Regions from separate parts of the Homo sapiens genome. Here all the other regions are linked to region 2. Evidence: promoter capture Hi-C in 16 types of primary human blood cells and fetal thymus (Javierre and others, 2016). All regions are on one chromosome and are shown on one strand. The core of a region is centred on a gene start or on the middle of the fragment in contact, and the rest is flanking DNA. Distances in the headings are between cores, read along the strand shown. Region 1 overlaps IMMT (inner membrane mitochondrial protein). Region 2 holds the start of TMEM150A (transmembrane protein 150A). Region 3 overlaps PTCD3 (pentatricopeptide repeat domain 3).

Evidence for each region. The method cuts DNA at HindIII sites, captures the fragments that hold promoters and counts their contacts. A CHiCAGO score of 5 or more calls a contact.
Region 1: a fragment that was not itself captured here is called in contact with the fragment with the promoter of TMEM150A in region 2 in 1 of 17 cell types (monocytes); the score reaches 5.3 in monocytes.
Region 3: a contact is called between a fragment that was not itself captured here and the fragment with the promoter of TMEM150A in region 2, in 2 of 17 cell types (neutrophils and monocytes). The highest score is 6.7, in neutrophils.

What each region holds. Positions count from the first base shown.
Region 1 is chr2:86,144,121-86,148,753 of GRCh38, reverse strand. IMMT (inner membrane mitochondrial protein) reads left to right here. Exons shown (of 15, transcript NM_006839.3): 13 at 921-1,052; 14 at 2,557-2,686; 15 at 3,873-4,633. The coding sequence ends at 4,486. Among named protein-coding and RNA genes, the nearest start is that of SNORD94, 11 kb to the right of the region's middle. RefSeq lists a silencer at 4,542-4,633. The HindIII fragment of the contact is 4,515 bases long and covers 1-4,042 here.
Region 2 is chr2:85,601,132-85,605,557 of GRCh38, reverse strand. It overlaps TMEM150A (transmembrane protein 150A), which reads left to right and starts at 2,860. Exons shown (of 8, transcript NM_001031738.3): 1 at 2,860-2,951; 2 at 3,494-3,674; 3 at 4,076-4,123. The coding sequence starts at 3,610. It overlaps C2orf68 (chromosome 2 open reading frame 68), which reads left to right. Exons shown (of 4, transcript NM_001013649.4): 4 at 1-304. It also overlaps a transcript of USP39 not described here. RefSeq lists silencers at 2,651-3,230, 3,331-3,390. The HindIII fragment of the contact is 3,378 bases long and covers 783-4,160 here.
Region 3 is chr2:86,124,794-86,129,672 of GRCh38, reverse strand. It overlaps PTCD3 (pentatricopeptide repeat domain 3), which reads right to left. Exons shown (of 24, transcript NM_017952.6): 10 at 4,591-4,678; 11 at 4,158-4,218; 12 at 3,793-3,878; 13 at 2,368-2,512; 14 at 1,682-1,732. Among named protein-coding and RNA genes, the nearest start is that of SNORD94, 8.6 kb to the left of the region's middle. The HindIII fragment of the contact is 9,969 bases long and covers 1-4,879 here.

The DNA of each region.
Region 1 (4,633 bases), core at 536-3,035, 540 kb before region 2:
AGGTATATTTTTTGGTTTTTTTTGGCCCATGTTGAATTTAAATTCATTTAAAAATAAGCAGTTTTCTTTGTTTAGAAGTCTATGTCAAGTCTATGTCAATAACTACCAGATACTTACTAATTTTCTTTTCTTTTTTCTTTTTGAGATGGAGTCTTGCTCTGTCGCCCAGGCTGGAGTGCAGCAGCGCAATCTTGGCTCACGGCAAGCTCTGCCTCCTCGGTTCACGCCATTCTCCTGCCTCAGCCTCCCGAGTAGCTGGGACTACAGGCACCCGCCACCACACCCGGCTAATTTTTTTTTTGTATTTTTAGTAGAGATGGGGTTTCACCATTTTAGTCAGGATAGTCTCAATCTCCTGACCTCATGAGCCACCTGCCTCAGCCTCCCAAAGTGCTGGGATTACAGGTGTGAGCCACCACGCCCGGCCAACTAATTTTCTTAATGATTCTTCAAAGTAGGCATTATTACTCACAAATGAGAAAGTGGAGATTTGAGAAGATAAATCATTTCCCCAAGGTCACACAGATGGTTGTAGTAAAGCTACGCTTGATTCCAAGTATATAGTTACTTTTTTTCATATCCTGGATTTAGTTATTTCTCAGAGGAGCATGTGATTCAGGAAATGGCAGTGTTTTATATGAGAGGCAGCCTGGTGATGTGGAAAAACCACAAGTTTGGGGGTGAGAGAGACCTTTGTTTGAAATCTGGTTTTTGCCACAGCTGTGTGATCTTGTTTGAATCACCTTCCAGGGTTTAGTTTTCCGTTTCACATGAGAAGTAGAAGTGTACACATGCCTGGCACATTAGAGGCGTTCAGGATATGGAAGCTGCTGTTGTCATGGTTGATAGTGGTCTTTCTGTTTTCCTAAAAGTATATGTGGAGAATTGAAAACTAATAACTACTATGTTTGGTTTCACAGATAGAAGAAGTCAGAGATGCCATGGAAAATGAAATGAGAACCCAGCTTCGCCGACAGGCAGCTGCCCACACTGATCACTTGCGAGATGTCCTTAGGGTACAAGAACAGGAATTGAAGTCTGAATTTGAGCAGGTGAGGACCTGGACTCCCTTCAGCCACACCCCTCTTCCTGACAGGATTAAGAGACTCTCCTTTCCTTTTAATGTACTCTGAGGATGTCGAAGATTTGGAAATCTCCTTGTATGTCTACAAAACTGCTTCTTTTTACATAATGGTGTACCTGTGTGTTCATGATCAGATGTGTTTTTAAAATATATATTCTAGTCATTTGGAATCTTCAGAGCTTTAAGGAGAGTTGGTAAAGGGGATTTCAGGAATGCAGACAGTAATATTTGACATGTGTATCTTCCTCCTATAGATGGCATGGTACTGCTTAGATTTTTATAACTGAGGTAATTTCCCAGAGAAGTTTTGAAATCCCAGTAAATTATCAGGATGCCTGTAATCATAGTTTCTATTCAAGAAATCATTTACAGTAATATTAACTTGTTACTTTGTCTTGCAAGAAGATATTGAGGTTTTCTAAGTAAAATCTTCCAGAGAATCGCGATGTATGTCAGTATGAAAAGGTATTTTAAATTCTATTTGGATATTTTTCTGAGAAAAATTAATGTATAAGCTCTTAAATACAAGATATTAGAATATAATTTAATCTAATTATTATGTTTAGGTTTGCAGTACAGATAATTTACTTTCTAAAGCTGACAATTTGTGGCTGAGCACAGTGGCTAACACCTATAATCCCAGCAATTTGGGAGGCTGAGGCGGGTGGATCGCTTGAGGACAAGAGTTCAAGACCAGCCTGCCCAACATGGCGAAACCCTGTCTCTATTAAAAATACAAAAATTACCTGGGCATGGTGGTGCATGCATGTAATCCCAGCCACTCCGGAGGCTGAGGCATGAGAATCGTTTGAATCTGGGAGGTGGAGGTTGCAGTGAGCTGAGGTTGTGCCACTGCACTCCAGCCTGGATGACAGAGCAAGATTCTGTCTCAAAAATAAAATACAGTTGGCAGTTTGTTTCTGACTTTAACAGCCTTCTCTCTTCTCTTGGTATGCCTCCTCTAATATTAGGTTCCATCAGTAAACCTGTAAAGAATTATATACATCGGCCGGGCACGGTGGCTCACGCCTGTAATCCCAGCACTTTGGGAGGCCGAGGTGGGCGGATCACGAGGTTAAGAGATCGAGACCATCCTGGCCAACATGGTGAAACCCATCTCTACTAAAAATACAATAATTGGCATGGTGATGCATGCCTGTAATCCCAGCTACTTGGGAGGCTGAGGCAGGAGAATCACTTGAATCTGGGAGGCGGAGGTTGCAGTGAGCCAAGATTGTGCCACTGCACTCCAACCTGGCAATAAAGCAAGATTCCATCTCAAAAAAAAAAAAAATATATTATATACATCAAATATGAGTCAGGACATTTTTGAAACTTTACACAAAATGTAGGAATTTCGTGACAACTCTAAGGCCCTCTTTGCTTCAGCAAGTAGTTGCTGGAAGATTACACAGTTACATGACATGCATTGAGTATCACTTTTTTCTGGAACTATTTCTGTTTTATTTCAGAACCTGTCTGAGAAACTCTCTGAACAAGAATTACAATTTCGTCGTCTCAGTCAAGAGCAAGTTGACAACTTTACTCTGGATATAAATACTGCCTATGCCAGACTCAGAGGAATCGAACAGGCTGTTCAGAGTAAGCATAAGCTATGTTTATCTTACAGATAATTTTCCTCAGCATAATTTATCAAAATAATTTTATAGGGAAAATGGGGTACATGTACTGACATCAGGACATAAAAATACTAATCACTCTACTTAATTGCAGTTTTTGCCATTAAAAGTAATGGCAAAATCTATATAACTAGAAATTTATACCTTGTATGACAAACACAAAATCACCATTTACAAGGCTATTTACCCAGTATCCTTTGGCTATGTCGCATGTGCCTGGGTGGTAAGGGCTAGGGGTCAGTGTGGTCCCATGCTTGCCTTCCACAGACTTGGTGGGTTATCTGGAGGTGGTGATTTGCCGAGTCCAACTACCAAATGGACAGTATTTATGCTGAGGCCTCCATGTGCCACATTGAAAGAGAAATGTCATGACAATGAGGGTATTAATAAAATGGGTTTTTTTAGGATGTTATGGAATCTTTTTTTGTCACATAACAATAAAAATAAATTCAATACTCATGGAATTTCAAGATCCAGTAGTCTGTTAAGTTCGTTTGAAGTCTCCCATTTCTTTTTTTTTTTTTTTTTTTTTTTTGAGACAGAGTCTTGCTCTGTCGCCCAGGGTAGAGTGCAGTGGTGTGATATCGACTCACTGCAGCCTCCGCCTCCTGGGTTCAAGCGATTCTCCTGCCTCAGACTCCTGAGTAGCTGGGAATACAGGTGCGTGCCACCACGCCTGGCTAGGTTTTGTATTTTTAGTAGACACAGGGTTTCACCATGTTGGCCAGGCTAGTCCTGAACTCCTGACCACAAGTGATCCACCCACCTCGGCCTCCCAAATTGCTGGGATTACAGGCATGAGCCATTGTGCCTGGCCCTGAAGTCTCCCATTTCTTTGCAGAAAATTTCTCATGGCCTTAGCGTTAAGTCTTAGCCTAATTTAAATAATATGTTTCTTTCTCAACTAGTAAAGGTAAAAATATGTGGATTAGATATCATGCAGATGTGAATGACTTCTGACTTTGATATGAAGAGGCCAGCTAGGAAAATACACCAGAAATAAGTGGTGGGGGTGGGGTTGTAAGAAAGTCTCTCTGGCCTCATCTTGCACATGTGTAGATGTAGCTTGTTGAATGTGCATCAGTTCTGTGGATGTATGTTGTCAGATGGAGAGAAAAATGTTTGGCTTTGCCTTTTTTTCTTTGTAGGCCATGCAGTTGCTGAAGAGGAAGCCAGAAAAGCCCACCAACTCTGGCTTTCAGTGGAGGCATTAAAGTACAGCATGAAGACCTCATCTGCAGAAACACCTACTATCCCGCTGGGTAGTGCAGTTGAGGCCATCAAAGCCAACTGTTCTGATAATGAATTCACCCAAGCTTTAACCGCAGCTATCCCTCCAGAGTCCCTGACCCGTGGGGTGTACAGTGAAGAGACCCTTAGAGCCCGTTTCTATGCTGTTCAAAAACTGGCCCGAAGGGTAGCAATGATTGATGAAACCAGAAATAGCTTGTACCAGTACTTCCTCTCCTACCTACAGTCCCTGCTCCTATTCCCACCTCAGCAACTGAAGCCGCCCCCAGAGCTCTGCCCTGAGGATATAAACACATTTAAATTACTGTCATATGCTTCCTATTGCATTGAGCATGGTGATCTGGAGCTAGCAGCAAAGTTTGTCAATCAGCTGAAGGGGGAATCCAGACGAGTGGCACAGGACTGGCTGAAGGAAGCCCGAATGACCCTAGAAACGAAACAGATAGTGGAAATCCTGACAGCATATGCCAGCGCCGTAGGAATAGGAACCACTCAGGTGCAGCCAGAGTGAGGTTTAGGAAGATTTTCATAAAGTCATATTTCATGTCAAAGGAAATCAGCAGTGATAGATGAAGGGTTCGCAGCGAGAGTCCCGGACTTGTCTAGAAATGAGCAGGTTTACAAGTACTGTTCTAAATGTTAACACCTGTTGCATTTA
Region 2 (4,426 bases), core at 1,611-4,110:
TGTCCTGTCCCTGAGGAATCAGATGGTCATACAGCCATAGGCACCCACCCGAAATTTCCCTAGGAGTTGGAGTAATGCTAGAATTGAAGACCTTCTGAGTAAAGGGCTTCTCTGCCTTCTCAGAGGCAGGAGAATTTGCACTGGTTGTGTTAAATGTATAAAAAGCTATATGTTCACCAGTTTACTCATTTCCAATGTGTAGATGAATAAAATGTAGTGTACAAATTATTTGAAAATCCCAGAAGGAAGGTACTTTTCAAATACAGTATTTTTTTTAACAAATAAACTTACGATTTTTACAGCACTGTTTTTGCCAAGAGTTGTGAAATAACTTGTGTACTTGGGGAAGTGGAGGTTAAATACCTGCCCTAAAGTCATTCCACCACCGAGTCAGCACTGGAAATCTCATCTCTTGCTTTGCCACACTATTTTAAGAGCTGTCCCTGTTGGAACATAACAACTAGACAGACTCATGTAGCATTAGAGTTGGAAGGTCTTTTTAAAGACATCTGGTCCTACTTCTTACATGATACACAATTCCCCCTACCAACTACCTATGAAGAGCCCTTCTGTCATACGGAGCTCCATCCTGGGATAATTCTATTTTAGGAACTATTAGATTGTCATACTAAGCCAAAAGCTGCCTCATGTCCCGGATCTGGACTACTATGCCTTGCCCCCACATCATGTTAGAACTTGAGTAGTCCTCTCAGGCCTTCATCTTGATTGGATAGGGACTCAAACCCAGCTCAAGAAGATATAGTGTTAAGAATTGCAAAGCTTCCAATTAGGGTTCACAGCCCCATTGGGCAGATAAGGTGCCTACGCAGTGGGAATGCAGTTGGGCAGGAAGATGGTTCCTGTCAATTAGCAAGGAAGCACACCCTTGTCCTGAGGCACAAAGCATAGCCAGCGGCAGGTGAGCTGGATTTTATCCCCCACTGGTTTATTCAGCCAGGTGTGCTTGTACAGTGATCACTACACAGCCATACTTCTTGGCCCTGTTTTAACTACTTGTCCTAATGTGTTTAAGGACAGGGCTCTCCCGCTGGGCACGGTGGTTCACATCTGTAATCCCAGCACTTTGAGAGGCCAAGGCGAGCGGATCACCTGAGGTCAGGAGTTCAAGAGCAGCCTGACCAACATGGTGAAACCCCGTCTCTACTAAAAATATAAAAAAATTAGCTGGGCATGGTGGCAGGCACCTGTAATCCCAGCTACTCGGGAGGCTGAGGCACAAGAATCACTTGAACACAGGAGGCAGAGGTAACAGTGAGCCGAGATTGCACCATTGCATTCCAGCCTGGGCAACAAGTGAAACTCTGTCTCAAAAGAAAAAGGGCTCTCCAACAGGTTTTCTGCTTCCATTTCTGCTTTCCACTGGGTCCAAGAAGGTTTCTCCCTCTTCAAGTCATTGTGCAGTTTATTCTGCTCTACTTCTCTAAAGCACAGGACCCTGTTGTTTCACATAGCCTTTGCCTCACCAGTGTTGCCAAACTTCAGCTCCCCACGCTGGGCAACCTGCGCCTGTGCACCATTCAGGTGATGATCTGTCATCTCACAAGGGCTCCAACAGATGCTGGGACCGCCTTTGAGACAGAATGCCAGGCACACTTCTGATATGTGAAAGTATTTCCACCCTTGCAATAATTTAAGAAACATCCGGGCCAGGCGCAGTGGCCCACGCCTGTAATCCCAGCACTTTGGGAGGCCGAGGCGGGCGGATCACGAGGTCAGGAGATCGAGACCATCCTGGCTAACATGGTGAAACCCCGTCTCTACTAAAAATACAAAAAAATTAGCCGGGTGAGGTGGCGGGCGCCTGTAGTTCCCAGCTACTCGGGAGGCTGAGGCAGGAGAATGGCGTGAACCCGTGAGGCGGAGCTTACAGTGAGCCGAGATCGCGCCACTGCACTCCAGCCTGGGCGACAGAGCGAGACTCCGTCTCAAAAAAAAAAAAAAGAAAAAGAAAAAGTAAAAAAAAAAGAAACATCCAGGAATGCACTCATAGCCTGTAAGTTTTTGGTGAAGCTGGTCAGTAATTTTTCCCACACTATCCTGTTTCCTTTTCCCAGATTCCTCCGGGTCTCTCACCTTCCCCTCTTTGCTTACCAACACTGGCCATGTTAATCCTTACCTACTCTACACTGACACCTACATGTGTCTATTTAGAATGGATGTCCTCTGGTCTCTGCCGTCTTATTTCAAATAAGTGTTGATCAGTCGGGAAACACGTCTTGGACACTGATTTCTGGCTAGTACATTGTGTACTTGTATGCAGGAAAGCAAAAAGTATCTAATGAAAGCAGCCCTCCTCCGGAGTTTGCTGAGCCACAGGAACCATAAGCCAAATCCCAGGCGCTTGGATTTCTTAAGAAACAGCCAAGTCTTTGTGTCTGCTTCTCTGGACCCACCGCAGCCCTGGCCAGAGGCAGGCATGGGGCGCCACGTTGAGAGAGCTTCCTAGAGGACTCACCGTTGGCCGGTGCAGGCTGCAAAATGTGCGCAGTGGCGGAGAGACGCTCCTCCAGCCATGTGCACGGCGACAATCCCAGGTAGAGCTGGAATGCAGGCTGCCCCGAGATCCCCACCTGCTGACGCTTCCCCGGCAGGAATCGGTTAAACGGAACCTCTAGTCATCTCGGTTTTAGAGCGGTCTTCACGCCACAGCCCTCCGCGCCCAGGTCCTCCGAAGTTGGGACACCGCCCACGTTTCCCCCGTGACGCGGGCGCGGGGGCTCGGGAGTTGTAGTCTCGGGCAGGGCGCGGGCACCGAGGCCGGGGCTGCGCGGACTCCACGTCCCGGCGGGCGGCGCGGCGAGGCCTGGGGCCTCCAGGGGCGGGGCCGCTCGGCCCTTTAAACCTTTCAGGGCTGCTCCGAGGGCCGCAGCTAGAGTCGGCGCCACGAGGGGGCCGAGCAGGGTGCGGCGGCGGCGGGGCGCTCCGGGGAGGTGCGTACTGGGCTCCTTCCCTTCCTCCGGGCTTCCAGGAATCACCTGGGGACTCTCGCGTCCCGGGTCCTGGGGGGTCGCCGGCCGCAGGGTCCGGCCCCAGCCGGGGTCCCCGCGCCCAGGCGAGCGGGGGCCGGGCCGGGCTGGGCTTTCCGCGTGAACCCGCCCCTCGCCCAGGGCGCCGATGGTCAGGTGGTTGCCTGCGCGCCGCCGACTCGCCACCGCTCCACTGGGCCGGCACCCAGCCTCTCCTTGGCGTGGCCTCTTCGGTTGTCCAGCCCTTCTCCCAGCCCTGGTCCCTCAGAAGGAGGGTAACTCCCTTCCAGATGTTACGGTCCGCCTGCGTCTCTCAGCACGCCGGTGGCATTTGGGTTGACCGCGGAGGCCCCCAGTGCCAGAGGGTGTTCACGTTCTGCCGTGGGCTCAGCCCAAACTTTGGACGCTCAGAGACCCAACGGGAGCGCTGGATAAGGTGTTGACCCCCTTCCCCTCCCCCTTCCCGGCCAGTTACCCACTCCTGGACTTTGATCTCTCTCCACCAGGCCAGGACAGCTGATGGTTGTGGCAGAAACATCTCAAGGTAGCTGGTCCGCCCCCACTTCCCCATCTACCTCTTGTCCTCCCCCCAACACCACCACCACCCTGGCTCCCCTCCCTCATGACCGCCTGGATCCTCCTGCCTGTCAGCCTGTCAGCGTTCTCCATCACTGGCATATGGACTGTGTGAGTAAAGGGGGGTGCCCGGGGGGCAACAGGAGCTTGATGACGCACACAAAGTCTCTTGTCCTGTCATAGCCACGGTGGTACCCAGGGTCACTCTGGGTGTCTCAAAAGCCTGACTTGGTGCCTGGGCACACAGCCCCTTGGGACAAGCTGGCACCACTGCTGTCCAGCAGGGTGGCCCTGACAAATATACTTCTAGCCAGGGCAATTTCCAGAGGGCCTGTAGCTGGGGGCATGCTGCAGGTGCTGGTGTGGCATCAAGCCTTAGGGACCTCAACTTGAGTCCCCAGCAACAATAATGAGGCTGAATGGGGCCAGAAATCAAGGTTGAAGAGAAGGGTCATGGGGTGGGTTGAGTGGGGCTCGGGAAGGCTGCCAGGGTGACAGTTCTGTTCCCACAGGTATGCCATGGCTGTGATGAACCACCATGTATGCCCTGTGGAGAACTGGTATGAAGGACTCTGCAGACAACCTTGCTCTAAAGCTTCCTTCATCTCTGTCCCCTCTTGGGCCTGAGGCTGCCACGAGCCAGACTGCAACCCTGAGCCTCACTGCTCTTCTCTGAAATTGGTCCCCAGGCATGGCTTCTTGCCACCTACCCACTTCCCACTATCCCTTTGCCCCTTTGGTTACTGCTTCAGGCGGGCACTGGGGAGTGGGATCTTCTGTCCCTGTAGGGGAGGTCTGGGAGAGAGTCCTCTTTGAGGCCTGAGGCTATAGGCCAAGGGCCTGGGGGCAGTCCCTTCCCCCAG
Region 3 (4,879 bases), core at 1,809-4,308, 520 kb before region 2:
GGGTAAATTCCTAGAAATTATTATTACTATTGAGACAGGGTCTTGCTCTGTCACCTAGGCTGGAGTGCAGTGGGGCAAACGCAGCTTACTGCAGCTTCAACCTCCTGGCCACAAGCAATCCTCCTGCCTCACACTCCTGAGTAGCTGGGACTACAGGGGTGCGCCACCATGCCCAGCTACTTTTTTCATGTTTAGTAGACATGGAGGTCTCTCTATGTTGGTTTCAAACTCCTGGGCTCAAGCAATCCTCCTGCCTTGGCTTCCTAAATTGCTGGGATTACAGGCGTAAGCCAAAACTACTGCTGCAGACAGGCAAATTTATATACATAAGACAAACCAACACAGCTCCCCCAGAACCCCCATCCCCCAGTCCTGGCTGTTACTTAGGAAATGTAAGTACATCTGACTTTGATTAGCAATTGAACCAGTGATGAGAGTTACAGAGGAAAGGAATATACTTTGGAGTCAGAAATACTAGCTCCATCACAATCTCACCAAGGTTGAGTAAAATTTTAGGGGACACAATTATGGAAACTGTTTACCTGTTTCCAAGGTATAGTCAATTAACTGGTTCCTTTTCCTAAAGATAAAATTTGCCTATACAGGTGAGGATATGGATTTTACAAAATTAGTCCTCCAAACCAGAGAGAAACAACTTCCCTTCTGTAATTTTTATAGTCTATCCACAAGAAAGAATGACTAGAACTGTCAATTCTGAACTCAAGGGTTATTTCTCAGGCTGGGGATAATGGACAAGAACCAAAAGATTTTGAGTGCCTCATATGTGCCCTCCAAGCACAGTAGCAGACACAGTGTGGAACTCATTTAACTACCACACCCTGCTGCTATTCCTCAGGTAGGTATCTAGTCGCTTTGACATAGCTGGTAAATAAATGGTAGAGTGGACATCTCAGCTCAGGTGTGTCTCTCTTCAAAGTCCATCTACTACAGAGCAGAGCTCCCACTGGAACTGACCTAAAAGTGGACAACGCATGGAGCCTTGAGGTCCTCCCAAAACGCTTCACAATAAGTTTACCTTTCCTCTGGAGCAGAAACGTCCACAAACTTTTGGCAAAGATGGAAATGTTCTGAATCTGCATCACGACACATGGTAGCCACTAGACACATGGCTACTGAGCACCAATGTGACAAAATAATTTATTATTTTACTTAATTTTAATTAACTGGCCACATGTGGCTAGTGGCTATGGTGTTAAATAGCACAGCTCCAGAGAACAAAAGGAATTTCAACCAAAATATATTCTACCCAATTCCTGTTTGTACAACATCACTGCCAGTACAATCCATAACCCTCTCCCCTCCAGCTCAAGTTTTAGACCACAAACAAGATTGCTACCCTCAAGAATAATTTTAGGTAGTAAGACCCTGTCCAAAAAAAAAAAAAAAAAATCAGCTAGGCATGCTGGTGGGCATCTGTAATCCTAACTACTCAGGAGGCTGAGGAGGGAGGACTGTTTGAGCCCAGGAGTTCAAGGCTGCAATGGGCAAGATCCTGTATCTAAAAAAACCACAACTTTCTGCTCAGGCTGTACAGGTTAATTTACAAATTCTCTCTTCTTAATTCATATGCAGAGAAGATAACTACAACAATTAATCACATAAACTCAAGAAAGCTGGTCAATTTTCTATATAAATTAACACAATTTAAGGCCATACATACCAGGTTGATCAAACAGGCGAATAATATGGTGATATGTTGCAAGCGAGGGTTCTCAAATTACCAGGTAGACAGAAAAAATAAACAATGAGGTAAAAACACAGCAATCCAAAACATAGTTTACTGAGACACACTGAATTAAAAACATATTGTTAATATTTAAGCAAAATATGCATTTCTATTCCTTTGAACAAAGTTATTTTCCAACTCATTAATGTAAAGGTAAAAAACTATCACAAAGACTGTATCACTTTTTGAAAGTCCAAATACTTATTAGTCACATTCTTCACTGAGAACAGTAAAATATATTGAAGTGAATTGATTCCCAAAGCAACTTTCAATAAAGTAATTAATGAAAAATATACAATACACTAGCACACACTTAGGTTCAAATACCTAATTATGTTGGGAAAATGTCATGAATTTAAAACTAGCTAACTCAAAGCAATCACTTCTCCTCAGATTCAACAGATCCATAAACAAAGTACCTAAAATACTAATGAACACTAAGATGATAAAGGCACTCCCACTATAATAAGTACATGTAAGTAAATGTGCCAAACATGGAAAGAAAATTTCCAACATATTATGTAAGCACAAGAATAATTTAAAGCTCTTTGCTTATGTAGCCCTGAAACCTCTGGCTGGCACAGTCTCTGTCCTCAGAGAACTCAAGGGCGCATCCTCACCTATTCCAATGGCTTTCATTTCACGTAAAACCTGTAAGGCTGGCGATCTTGCAAACACATGAAATCTTCGGAGACATTTCAGAATGGTATTAAAAGTCTGAAGATTTGGTTTCACCTTCTGTGCAACCATGTGTCTTAGCAGCTCCTAGGTGAATAAAAAACAAGAAGTATCTTTCATGCCTGGGTAATCTGTCCAATAATCTATGTTTCATACAAAGTAAAGAATTTAGCTTTCTTGCTTATGTTTAAAGCAGGTTAGTAACTATATCCCTCTTTTAAGAACTGTTTATTAATTAGCAGGTTCCATGATTCTGCCTTTTAAAGAAGCCTGCTAATTCAAACACCCACCCCACTTGATAGAGGTGGTCAACTGTCTTCAGTCTTCTACCTAGGAGAGTTTTCCAAGAAAAGACGCAAAAATAATAGACTAGTATGATATAAAAAAGTGGTTGGTTTTTTTTTTTTTTTGAGACAAAGTTTCGCTCTTCTTGCCCAGGCTGGAGTGCAGTGGTGCGATCTTGGCTCACTGCAACCTCTGCCTCGTGGGCTGAGGTGATTCTCCTGCCTCAGCCTCCTGAGTAGCTGCGACTACAGGCGAGCACCACTATGCCCGGCTAATTTTTGTATTTTTGTAGTAGAGACGGGGTTTCACCATGTTAGTCAGGCTGGTCACAAACTCCTGACCTAAGGTAATCCACCCGCCTCAGCCTCAAAGTGCTGGGATTATAGGCATGAGCCACCGTGCCCAGCCGTTTCTATTCTTAAGTTACTAGGCGAGAATCAATCCAGTGATTTCAACTTTTTGAAATTACACCTGATAGGATTTGACAGCAAATATGCATTACTTTGTAACAGAAAAACTATTATGAAAAATAAATGAATAAAATGGTCCAGAATTCTAGCTCTATACTCTCGGTCAAGCAACTTTTTCTTCTTATGTGCCAGACACAGCTGAGTCCCAGGGCTGCGGAAAGGGTAGTGAACAGGTAACTGCTACACAGTGACTGCCATACACATGCTCATAAATGCTGTCTCCAGCCCATGTACTTCTGTTTCTTTTTCTTTTTTTTTTTTTTGAGACGGAGTCTTGCTCTGTTGCCCAGGCTGGAGTGCAGTGGTGCGATCTCTGCTCACAGCAACCTCCGCCTCCCGGGTTCAATAGATTCTCTTGCCTCAGCTTCCCAAGTAGCTGGGATTACAGGCGTGCACCACCACGCCCAGCTAATTGTTTGTACTTTTAGTAGAGACGGGTTTCACCATGTTGGCCAGGCTGGTCTCCAACTCCTGGCCTCAGGTGATCTGCCCGCCTCGGCCTCCCAAAGTGCTGGTATTACAGGTTTGAGCCACCACACCTGGCCAGCCCATGTATTTCTGGTAAAGAGTATTTAAGCCCTATTAAAAAATAAACTGAGGATTCCTCCTTACCAGTATTTTACTCCATTTTTCCTCAAATTTCTCATTTATCGCACATACTGTTGCTTCAATCAATGCATTAAATGTGTATACATCAGCTGTAAAATAATAAAATGATAAAATTTGGGGTTGAAGATTAATCCCTAAATGGCTGAGTTTAAGGCAAAGCAGTCATTCCTATGTGTCCCTTGACTAATCACATGTCCACAAAACTGGAAAACTACTCTCCTCTCTGGATCTCTACTCTTGCTTCAATCATCTACGCCTCAGGAAAAGGTAAAGTGTAGGCCAATGACTGAGGCACGATCCAAAGCCTTCACACAGACAATTAAAAGAAGGAAATGGAGAAAGGGACAGAGGGGAGTTCTCAAACTCACCATGGAGTCTGTTGTTTAGTAACTCAGTGTACAAGTTTAATGCCTGCTCATAAGCTCGGTGCTGGAAAAGGAAAAATTAAGCATCATCAAATTCATTTACTTAAGAAGTCCTTGCACATTTCTGTCCTAGAGTTTGGTAATATAGCTCAGGCTCAATAGATCAGGCTCCTGTTCTCATGAAGCTCATACTCTAGTGCAGTGGGATTTTCTATCCACTGGTAATGCCTAAACATATTTTTATTTGTCACAACTGAAAGTGGGGGAGGAGTACACTACTCACATCCAGTGGGTAGAAGCCAGGGAGCTACTAACATCCTACAATGCACAGGACAGACCCCACAACAAATTACCTGACCCAAAATGTTAGTAGTTCTGAGGCTGAAACACCCTGATCGGTGGAAATGAAAGACAAAAATAAATAAAACAAATGTACCTTCACCATTCCTCGGATCATTGTGCAATAGGAATGTTCATTTTTCTCTGGCATTAGAGAAAAGATTCTCTCAGCGTTGTTTTTTGCTCTAGACACAAGAGAGTAAATGTGAACCCAGGCAATAAGAAATACCAATGAGAGCTACCACCATTTACTGACGGTTTATTATGTTCTAGGCAATGTGCCAAGTACTTTCTATACATTATCTCAATTCTTACAGGGTATTATGGTTATTATCATTTTGAAAATGGGGAAAATCAAGACTTAACGATCTTAATGTGTTGTCAGG